4 separate regions of the Homo sapiens genome follow, and all the other regions are linked to region 1. The links are contacts of gene promoters, found by promoter capture Hi-C in human tissues and cell types (Jung and others, 2019). All regions are on one chromosome and are shown on one strand. The core of a region is centred on a gene start or on the middle of the fragment in contact, and the rest is flanking DNA. Distances in the headings are between cores, read along the strand shown.

Region 1 (2,568 bases), core at 35-2,534:
TTCTGCCTCCTGGGTTCAAGCGATTCTCCTGTCTCAGCCTCCTGAGTAGCTAGGATTACAGGCGCCTGCCACCACGTCCAGCTAATTTTTGTATTTTTAGTAGAGACGGGGTTTCACCATGTTGGTCAGGCTGGTCTCGAACTCTTGACCTCCGGTGATCTACCCGCCGCGGCTTCCCAAAGTGCTGCGATTATAGGCGTGAGCCACTGCGCCCTGCCTCCATTTTTGAGTTGGGGGGCTTCCTTTGTCACCCAGGATGGAGTGCTGTGGCATGATCATGGCTCACTGCAGTCTCGAACTCCTGTTTTGTCCCCATTTTATCCTGAGATGACCAAATGGGGACAACTTACAGTTAACTCACCTGGGTGACGTTCACGCCCTGGTCCAATGCATACTGTATAAGCCCAGTGGCTGTATCATGTGACAGGGAGTTCAGGTTGTATTTGACCCTGTGGTGGGGAACAGAGCCCAGTTAATCTCATTCTAGGAACAAAGCTTGGTCAGCCCATGCTGGCTGCCCCTCCCGGGGACCCCTCACCGCCCAAGCATGCTGGTAGAGATGAGGTTTGGAGACAGCACATCCAGCGCCCAGCCGACAAAGTCCGTGTCCTCCATTTTCGCAAACAGCCTTTCCCGCTCGCTCTCCAATAGGGTCTTTGAGTCTGGGAGGAGGTTTGGAAGAGAAGGGGAACAGCTGGTTCTCCCAGTTCCTGCCCTCCCCTTTCAGTTCTCACCTGCCCCTGCACATACCCAGGAATCCCTTCCCCAGACGCACACCTCGGGCTCACCTGCCACTTTCAGCGCCTCCAGATCTGCCAGGCGAGGCAGGGGACAATAACAGATGGCGTAGACCATGGGGCCTGGGGAGAAGGGGTGTCAGTTTTCTGGCAGCCGGGGTCCAATCACTGAGCCCGTGAAAGTTGCCATTCATCCCTGTTCTATCATCACTGCTTCTTTAGGTGCCATCACCACGACCACATCCCCTCCCTTGGTGCAGTGCAATCCCGACTCCCGTTTCCCGCATCCTCCGTACCACGCCCCTCCCCTCCCTGGCCCTAGGGGCGCACCCAGCACGGGGCCCCTGCCCGCCTCATCGACGCCCAGGACGCAAGGCTCCTTGCGGCACACCGCGGGCACAGGCGAACTCAGGCGACAGCGGCCTGTATTGTCTCTCTCCAGCTCGCTGAGATCCATGCCGCCTCAGCCGCCACCACCAGCTGCAAGAACTAATACTGCAGGAGCGGGTCTCGGCGCGCGTTTTCCGCGGGCCTCGAAGCGGCGCCTGCTTCCGGCCAATCCGCGGGCAGAACACGCCCCTGGCGCTCCCGCCGCCGTGGACGCTTACGCAGCCGACGCCGACGTCGCTGCCGTGCGCCCTCCTGGGAATTGTAGTCCCGAAGGGCTATGGCCGAACACTCAGCTTGGGGAATTCGGTGGACGGGGTCACTTTGCAAGCTCTGCTTCACGGTCTCTGGGGCCCCGCCTGCGTGGCCCGGTGGGAAGAGGGGGAAATAAGAGGGAAACTGAGACGTAGCTTCGAAGACCCAGCCTAACGGGGAACTAGAGAGTCAAATATCACCCCACTCCCAGGACACGGGTCACCGCATCACTGGGTCCCCAACTGCCACTTGGATTCAGGCCCTGTACTTGCGGTCCCTGCTTCTGTACACATTCTAAGTCCCCTGGACCAGGTAGCCCCGCTTCCACTAAACCCAGGCTTTTGGATTTGGAGTCCCCAAACTCCCTCTCTTGGTTGCTCCCTTCGGCCCACCTCCACTCCGTGCAAGATCTGTGCTTCCTAACCTCTGTCTCATTCAGGCCAAGCCTTCCCCACCCCCGTTGGAGATCACAGACCTCGGTGGACTCCTGCTCAGGGTCTCTGCTCCCTATAGAAGCTCATTCCTCCCAACTTAGAATGAATGTCCCCACCCCCACCCCTCGACCCACTTTTTTTTTTTCTTTTTTTTTTTTTTGAGACAGAGTCTCGCTCTTGTCGCCCAGGCTGGAGTGCAATGGCGCCATCTCCGCTCACTGCAAGCTCCGCGTCCCGGGTTCACGCCATTCTCCTGCCTCAGTCTCCCGAATAGCTGGGACTACAGGCGCCCGCCACCACACCCGGCTAATTTTTTGTACTTTTTAGTAGAGATGGGGTTTCACCGTGTTAGCCAGGTTGGTCTCGATTTCCTGACCTTGTGATCCGCCCGCCTCGGCCTCCCAAAGTGTTGGGATTGCAGGCGTGAGCCACCGCACCCGGCCTTCTTTTTTTTTTAGACAGGGTCTCTCTCTGTTGTCCAGGCTGGAGTGCAGTGGCGCGATCTTGGCTCACTGCAACCTCCACCTCCTGGGCTGACGCGATCCTCCCACCTCAGTCTCCCAAGCAGCTGGACTACAGGTGCACACCACACCACCATGCCCGACTATTTTTGGTATTTTTTGTAGAGACGGGGTCTCATTATGTTGCCCAGGCTGGCTTCAAACTCCTGGGCTCAAGCGATCCGGTCGCCTCAGCCTCCCAAAGTGTTGGGATTACAAGCCTGAGCCAGCCACAGTGCCTGGCATCCACCACTT
Region 2 (2,568 bases), core at 26-2,525, 1.3 Mb after region 1:
CAGCCCTGTTGGCCCTTGTTCATTCCCTCCCTCCTACAACTCTGTGCTGGCTACTGGGTGTCACCAGGACAAACCTAGTCCCTCGAGTCAGCAAGGGAACAGGCAAATTACACTTTGGGGAGCTTAGGAGAGGAGCATGCCTTGAGTGGGGGGTCAGGAGGCCTTCCTGGCAGAATACAGAAAAACCAGGAGTCATCGCCCGGGTGAAGTGTGGAGTGGGCAGCCTAGGCAGCGGGGCTAGCTTGTGCAAAGGTTTGGAGGCACAAGAAAGTGGAAGGAAGCCGGGCACAGTGGCTCACGCCTGTAATCCCAGCACTCTGGGAGGCTGAGGCGGGTAGATCATTTGAGGTCAGGAATTCGAGACCAGCCTGGCCAACATGGTGAAACCCCATCTCTACTAAAAATTTAAAAATTAGCCCGGCGTGGTGCTGTGCACCTGTAATCCCAGCTCCTCGGGAGGCCGAGGCAGGAGAATCACTTGAACCTGGGAGGCGGATGTTGCAGTGAGCCGAGATCTCGCCACTGCACTCCAGCCTGGGTGACACAGCGAGACTCCGTCTCAAAAAAAAAAAAAAAAAAAAAAAGGAAGTGGAAGGGAGTGTAAAATACCTCAAAAAGGTGTAGGCATGGGTTAGCCGCTGCAGCCCCCACTGTGCAAACCTTAAGGGTGCATGTCTTCCAACAGTGGAGGAAGGCCCTGTCTTCGCCATGTGCATGGCGGGTGCTCATGACCAGGCGACGATGGCTAAGTGGATCCAGGGCCTGCAGGAGACCAACCCAACCCTGGCCCAGATCCCCGTGGTCTTCCGCCTCGCCGGGTCCACCCGGGAGCTCCAGACATCCTCTGCAGGGCTGGAGGAGCCGCCCCTGCCCGAGGACCACCAGGAAGAAGACGACAACCTGCAGCGACAGCAGCAGGGCCAGAGCTAGTCTGAGCCGGCGCGAGGGCACGGGCTGTGGCCCGAGGAGGCGGTGGACTGAAGGCATGAGATGCCCTTTGAGTGTACAGCAAATCAATGTTTTCCTGCTTGGGGCTCTCTTCCCTCATCTCTAGCAGTATGGCATCCCCTCCCCAGGATCTCGGGCTGCCAGCGATGGGCAGGCGAGACCCCTCCAGAATCTGCAGGCGCCTCTGGTTCTCCGAATTCAAATAAAAAGGGGCGGGAGCGCTGTTGGTTGTGCGCATGCGCAGTTTCCATTCTTGGTCTCCTTTTGGCGCCCTGGGGCAGCGAGAGACCGTGAGAAATTTCTCGGCGGCGCCGAAGATGCGCGCCACTTCCGGTCTGGCTCCTAACAACGGGGGAGGCTGGTAACCAGGGTGGGGGGGATGGCGGAGCGGGCGCTAGAGCCCGAGGCGGAGGCGGAGGCTGAGGCGGGCGCGGGCGGGGAGGCAGCAGCCGAGGAGGGCGCAGCGGGCCGAAAGGCGCGGGGCCGGCCGCGACTCACGGAGTCGGACCGGGCCCGGCGACGGCTCGAGTCCCGGAAGAAGTACGACGTGCGGCGCGTGTACCTGGGCGAGGCGCACGGGCCCTGGGTGGACCTGCGGCGCCGCAGCGGCTGGAGCGACGCCAAGCTCGCCGCCTACCTCATCTCTCTGGAGCGCGGCCAGCGGAGCGGCCGCCACGGGTGAGGGGGCCTGGCCCCGAGGGAGGGAGGGAGGAGACGCCCCCAGACCCCGCCGGGCTTTACCCCGCCCCCTCCGCTTCTAGGGCCAGCCCCCGGCACCTGCGGACCCCGCCCAGGAGCCGGGCCGGCGGCCTGGGTCTCGTACTGCCTGGCCGGGACGCGCCTGGCTCGTGGCCCCGCCTCCCATCGTTCCGACTGCCCAATCCTAGGGTGCACCCAGCCCCTCGACCCGCCTTCTGAGCGCTTGGCCCCGCCCGCTAGAACTCTGGCGGCCCAATCCTGGGACTGGCCCCACCTCCAGGCCTTGTAACTAACCAGGCCCTGGGGGGGCAGCCCCGCCCCCTCACCGGTCTCATCCTCCCCCGCTTAGTTCCCCACCTGGCCTGGGACTCTGGACACCCTGGGGCACTCAGCCCTGCCCTTCTTGAAGTTCTGGTGCCCCATCTGGGACTCCGTATGGCCCCATTCCCACAACCCTAGATCCAACACATCCGGGGGACCCTTCACAACCTGGACTGCACTCCCCTAAACCTATTTCTGTGAAGCAACTCAGCCCAGGGAGACTCGGATGAAGAGGAAACCCCTAGTTAGCTTGGCAGGTGGAGGGCAGAGAGGCCTGTCTTTGTAAATTCTCAGTCTTGAGAAGGAGCAGTGTGGATGGAGTTTTTCCCTTCCTGCCTTATATGTTGATGTGATGATTGAGTTAAAATAGGCAAAGAGCTTAGAAGAGTGCCTGGCAGGTAGTGGGTTCCCTAAGTATTAACTTTTACGAGGATGACGTTTATTCCGTATCACAAGCAGTGCCGCAAGGAAATCCTTGTTCTGCCCTGGTTTTCAGGTACACATGTTCTCATGTTTCTCTGGGGGGAGATTCTGAGAGTCAAGAATCAAACAGATCCTGCTAAGTTATACCCACCCCTTTCCCAGGACAGCAGGCTGGCT
Region 3 (2,568 bases), core at 26-2,525, 1.0 Mb after region 1:
TACTAGCCTCTGTTTGAAAAATAAACTGGGGGACAAGGAGTTCATAAAGTTGCTGTGAATTGAGGAGAGAAAGCCTGAGGAAGGCTCTGGAAGCCAAGGGATTTTCTGTCGGCCCTAGGAGGAGTTAGGATGAGAGAACACAGTGGTGGACTTGAGACCCTGCTGCCCACATCTTTGGAAGACTCGAAGGCGAACGGGTCACCCTTGGGAAGAAAGAAGGGACAGGGGACCACACAGACCACAACTCCTCCCACACACAAACCCCACACACGAGTCTGCCTGGTGACCTGTCATCACCGTGCAGCCTCCTCACCGGGTTCACAGAACTGCGAGCCAGGCTGGAGGCGAGATTGCAGTTAGATATTAACCAGGTGCCCTCAGCCCCGCTGCCTCGCGGGGCCGCCTCCCCAAGAGTCAGGCCACAGCAGATGCTGACCGCCGGCTTCGCCATTGTGCTTGGGGATGAGATCTCTGAGAGTTGCTCAAGAGTCGCCTGAGTTCTTTCTCAGATCCTGAATTCCAGCGGAAAGGCTGGCGCCAACCAGGCTGAAGACCCCACAAGGGAACCCACTCAGCAGAAGAATGCGGTTTCTTCACCTCCAGTCCCAAGAGTCACCCCTCACTTCCCCACCATCCAGCGACCCCACGCCCCAGCCGCCCCTGTCCACACCCCTAAACACCCCATCCCCAAACCTCTCAGGAAGGCGGATCTGGGGTGTCCTCCCCTCTCCCCCTATTAAACTGTTTCTGCTGCAGCCCTCGGCGTCTCGGTGCAGTGACTCGGGCCGCGAACCTGTGCCGGTTACAGCCGCACAATCTGGGGAGACGCAGGACTGCGGGCGCGGAGCTGCCCAGACAGGCCTCCAGGGCCAGGGCCGCAGTGGCCGCGCAGGGACGGGACAGGACGCCCGGGGTCCCGGCTGCCGCCCCAGCCCCATCGTGCGGCCGAGGGAACCGAGGGCCGAGCTGCGCCAGGGTGTCGCCGGCGGGGAAGACCTGGTGCCACCACAGCCGGTTCCGGCCGGTTCCAACCAGTCTCTCCTCTCACGCGTCGGGACACCAGACCTCACACACTCACCATTTCCCGGCTTCCGGCGTCCAGGTTCCTCCCTCTGCCTCCCGCTGTCAGTGCGGGTCCCAGCGAGACAGAAGCTGCCACAGACGTTCCAGGGCGTCTCTCAGTGACAGAACCCGGAGCCCAGTGCAGGGGCGTGGAGAAGACTCGGCGGGCTCTTTGAACCTTGCACCCTCCTCCGGTCAGTGCGCCTGATTGACAGTTCTCACGACCCCGCCCCGCGGCCCTGATTGGATAGTGCGCCAGGTCCCTCCCCCGGGCACTGAGTAACGGAAGAAGCGATCTCGGGCAGCGGAGTGGAACCTGATAAACAGATTCCAGACAGGCCTTGAGAGGACTAGCTTCCTCCCTGCGCTGTGACCTGACCCCCTCCCAGGGGACATTTGCATTTAGGCAGTATGTCCTGACCTTCCTCCTTTTTCCTCTTGGACAGGGACCCACAAGTCTGTGCAGGAAATTCCAGACTCACTGTCCAGTGGAGCTATCCCCTGATTTGAGAGCAGGAAGGGAGCCCAGGCCACACTGCAGCAGAAGGGAGGGGCTGATGTCCTCCAGGAATCAGGAGTTTTGGATGAGGCTGTTGGCTGCACAGGCCAAGCCTTTCTCCCACCTTATGTCTCAATCTACTAATTTTCAGTGCAGAATATAAAAACACCCCAACAAAGCCGGGCGTGGTGGCTCACACCTGTAATCCCAGCACTTTGGGAGGCTGAGGCAGGTGGATCACCTGAGGTCAGAAATTCGAGACCAGTCTGGCCAACATGGTGAAATCCCGTCTCTAAAATACAAAGATTAGCCGGATGTGGTGGCGCACGCCTGTAGTCCCAGCTACTCAGGAGGCTGAGACAGAGGAATCACTTGAACCTGGAAGGCAGAGGCTGCAGTGAGAGAGTGGGCGAGACAGAGGGAGACTCCGTCTCAAAAAAAAAAAAAAAGAAAAAAGAAAAAAGAAATAAATAAAATTGTTAAATGTGTGGAAAAACTGGAATTATATGGCGGCAATATTTTATAAAGCAAAAACTTGAACTAGCTCAGATAAGCAGCCTGCTGCATCCACACACAGTTCACAAGTCAACCACTTTCAGGAGGCCAAACATATTCCAAAGCTTGGAGGCCAGACGATAATTCCTGAAATGGAGCCCTAGGGTGGATCAGAACCTGGGGATGAGTCAGGGGCACTAATGGATTTAACTCTGGGAGTTCAATTTGCCCTCCTGTCTCCTAAACACAGCGTGGAAATGCTCCTTCCATCAAGCCTATAAATGTTATTGAATTAAATGCTTCAATCAAAGGCTGAGACATTAGACTTTGAATTTGAAAACATTCATCTTCATATTTTTATGAAGAATACCAGATATAAAAGCATTATGAGGCCAGGCACCGTGGCTCATGCCTGCAATCCCACCACTTTGGGAGGCTGAGGTGGGTGGATTGCTTGAGCTCAGGAGCTCAAGACCGGCCTGGGCAATGTGGTGAAACCCCCATCTCTATTT
Region 4 (2,568 bases), core at 23-2,522, 1.0 Mb after region 1:
GCCCAGCTAATTTTTGTATTTTTGGTAGAGTCGGGGTTTCACCATGTTGGCCAGGATGGTCTCGAATTCCTGACCTCGTCATCCGCCCGCCTCGGCCTCCCAAAGTGCTGGGATTGTAGACGTGAGCCACCGCGCCCGGCCATACCCGACTAATTTTTTAAAATATTTTGTACAGACGGGGTCTCGCCATGTTGTCCACGCTGGCATCACCTTGCCTTACGCTGGAATGTTAAATATACTCTTTTAAATTGGAAAGGAAATGAAACCCAAATGTAAAGAAAAAAAAAAAAAAGCTCTATGGGGGCGGGGGGAGGGGGGCGGGCCAAACTCTGATTAAATTGTTGTGCCTCACAAACTAGCCTTGTATAAAAAACGTTGTAATCCTGTTAAATTTCTTGCCTATATAAGCAAGAACTTAAACTTTTAAATTTGAAACACTGAGCCCATTTCCGTGGATCCTGTGTTTTCCCAAATGGGCCATTCCCAGCTTCTTGCTTGAGTAAACTTTAAAAAACTGGAATCTGATTCTTTTATTTCAGGTTGACAAGTCCACATACGGCGACAGCATCACTGTAACTAATCAAGTATTTAATCCTGTTTGCCTCCTCATGCAACTTATAAAAGCCTTTTCTTCAATCACAAGCCATGACCGGGTGTTTCTCACTCGGAATCGCTGTTGCTCCAACAAACTCTTTAACTGTTAACAGAGCCTCAGTTTAATTTTTAGCAGAAGAAAGGCGGGACACATCCGACCCCCCATGACCCTCCCGTGGCCCCCGCACAATCTGGGAAGACGCCGGGCTGCGGGCGCGGAGCTGCCCAGAGAGGACTCCGGGGCCGGGGCCGCAGTCGCCGCGTAGGGACGGGACAGGACGCCCGGGGTCCCAGCTGCGGGCCCAGCCCCACCTGGCGGCCGAGCGGACCGAGGGCCAAGCCACGCCATGGGGGACGCGGGTCCCAATCGCCGGGGTCGCCCGAGCGGAGGCCTGGGTCCCGCCACAGCAGGATCCTGTTGGTTCCACCCAGCCCCTCTTCCACGTATCTGGACGCTAGGCCGGGCACTTTACCATTTCCCTGCTTCTTGGTGTCCCGGCGTCCTCTTTATGACTCCGGAGCAGGTCACAGCGCAGGTGACAGCGTCACAGGAGCCGTGGCGGAGGCACCTGGGGCCTCTCGGAGCAGCAAGGACTGGATGCAGAACGCAACGGACCCCAGCAACAAAGGAGTGCAGAGACTCTGAGTGCGGCCTTCTGCTTCCCCGGATTGACAGTTGGCAGGGCCCCGTCCCAGGGCCCCTGATTGGATGGGGTTCCAGGCTCCGCCCCTCAGCCCTGAGTGACAGGGTAAGCCCTGGGTAACGGAGCCCTGCAGAGCCCGGCTGATTAATCCTAGCTACAGCCTTTCTAAGGCTAAGCTCACTCCCTGCGCCCTGGTCGTTGGCTATCTGCATTTCAGCCAAACTTGCTACTTATTGTTAGAAGGGGCACTGTTAGCTTCCTCGATCTTTCAGAAATGTGTGCTGGGAATTCCAGACTCGGTGTTCAATGGAGTCATTCCTTTGCCTCATAGCAGGAAGGAAATCCAGGCCAGGCCAGGCCAGGCAAGACTGCACCAGGAGGGAGAGGCAGGTGTCCTCTACAGGGCGGGAATTGGGGATGAGACTTCCTCACACTCCCCCCGTCCCACCCCTGAATATGGAACCGCTTCCTCCCCCTAGACTTCATTTTCACCAGCAGAAGTTCTCACCTGGGGTCAGTTTAAGCTTCTAACCTAAGTAAACTATTACCTTCACAAACCCTTTCTCCAGGTGACATGTCAGACAAATCTTACTGAGCCTGATCTTCACAGATTATCTTTGTATGTACAAATTACAGTCTGTCGCCGGGACCCTTTGCACGTAAAAACCAAACACTGCCCCCGCAAAACGTCCCTAGGCTCTAGGTACAGCCCCAGTAAGGACAGAACCTCCCCCCAACCCCCCTACACAAAGTGCACCTGCACGTGAGTCTCCTGCTTTCCAGGGCTCTGTAGCTTCTCAGGATCCACATTCCTTCCGCAGCTGTTCTGAGCAGCTGGAGGCCACCTGCAGTAGAGGGCAGGCTGCCCGGGAAACACCCAGGGGAGCTCCCTTTCCCTCCCTTTGCCGGCTCCAGACTGGCCTCAGCAGGGTGTCACTGGCCTTAGGCTCTGCTGCCCCCTACAGGTTATTCACTTCATTGATCGGTTACCTGAGACAAACACCCTCAGTTCCACTGTACGTATGTATAAAGTGGGGAAGGAAAATTCTAAGATAATTGAAGTGAATTAAAAGACTTGCAGGCAGGGTGCGGGGGCTCACGCCTATAATCCCAACCCTTTTGGAGGCTGAAGCGGGAGGACTGCTTGAACCCAGGAGTTCATCATCCTGGAAAACGGAGCCACACCTCGTCTGTACTAAAAATTTAAAAATTAGCAGTGCGTGGTGTCCTGAACCTGTAGTCCCAGCTACTCGGGAGGCTGAGGTGGGAAGATCTTGAGCCCAGGAGTTTGAAGCTTCAGTGACCTATGATCTCGCCACTGTGCTTCAGC

What was found. The method cuts DNA at HindIII sites, captures the fragments that hold promoters and counts their contacts. A contact is called where the count stands out against the background at its distance.
Region 2: the fragment with the promoter of ZNF653 here is called in contact with the fragment with the promoter of RNASEH2A in region 1 in 1 of the 25 tissues and cell types used here (dorsolateral prefrontal cortex).
Region 3: the fragment with the promoter of ZNF441 here is called in contact with the fragment with the promoter of RNASEH2A in region 1 in 1 of the 25 tissues and cell types used here (small bowel).
Region 4: the fragment with the promoter of ZNF491 here is called in contact with the fragment with the promoter of RNASEH2A in region 1 in 1 of the 25 tissues and cell types used here (lymphoblastoid cells).

What each region holds. Positions count from the first base shown.
Region 1 is chr19:12,805,300-12,807,867 of GRCh38, reverse strand. It overlaps RNASEH2A (ribonuclease H2 subunit A), which reads right to left and starts at 1,284. Exons shown (of 8, transcript NM_006397.3): 1 at 1,068-1,284; 2 at 789-860; 3 at 539-662; 4 at 362-449. The coding sequence starts at 1,194. RefSeq lists enhancers at 1,181-1,230, 1,431-1,560 and a cis regulatory region at 1,005-2,037. The HindIII fragment of the contact is 8,217 bases long and covers 1-2,568 here.
Region 2 is chr19:11,504,546-11,507,113 of GRCh38, reverse strand. It overlaps ZNF653 (zinc finger protein 653), which reads left to right and starts at 1,275. Exons shown (of 9, transcript NM_138783.4): 1 at 1,275-1,626. The coding sequence starts at 1,328. ECSIT (ECSIT signaling integrator) reads left to right here. Exons shown (of 8, transcript NM_016581.5): 8 at 686-1,185. The coding sequence ends at 930. RefSeq lists silencers at 1,080-1,129, 1,290-1,959 and an enhancer at 2,110-2,179. The HindIII fragment of the contact is 10,042 bases long and covers 1-2,568 here.
Region 3 is chr19:11,765,707-11,768,274 of GRCh38, reverse strand. It overlaps ZNF441 (zinc finger protein 441), which reads right to left and starts at 1,275. Exons shown (of 4, transcript NM_152355.3): 1 at 1,079-1,275. The coding sequence starts at 1,081. RefSeq lists silencers at 245-354, 805-944 and an enhancer at 1,015-1,114. The HindIII fragment of the contact is 15,674 bases long and covers 1-2,568 here.
Region 4 is chr19:11,797,227-11,799,794 of GRCh38, reverse strand. It overlaps ZNF491 (zinc finger protein 491), which reads right to left and starts at 1,272. Exons shown (of 3, transcript NM_152356.4): 1 at 1,068-1,272. RefSeq lists enhancers at 1,011-1,170, 1,181-1,280, 1,506-2,017 and a silencer at 2,111-2,280. The HindIII fragment of the contact is 4,685 bases long and covers 1-2,568 here.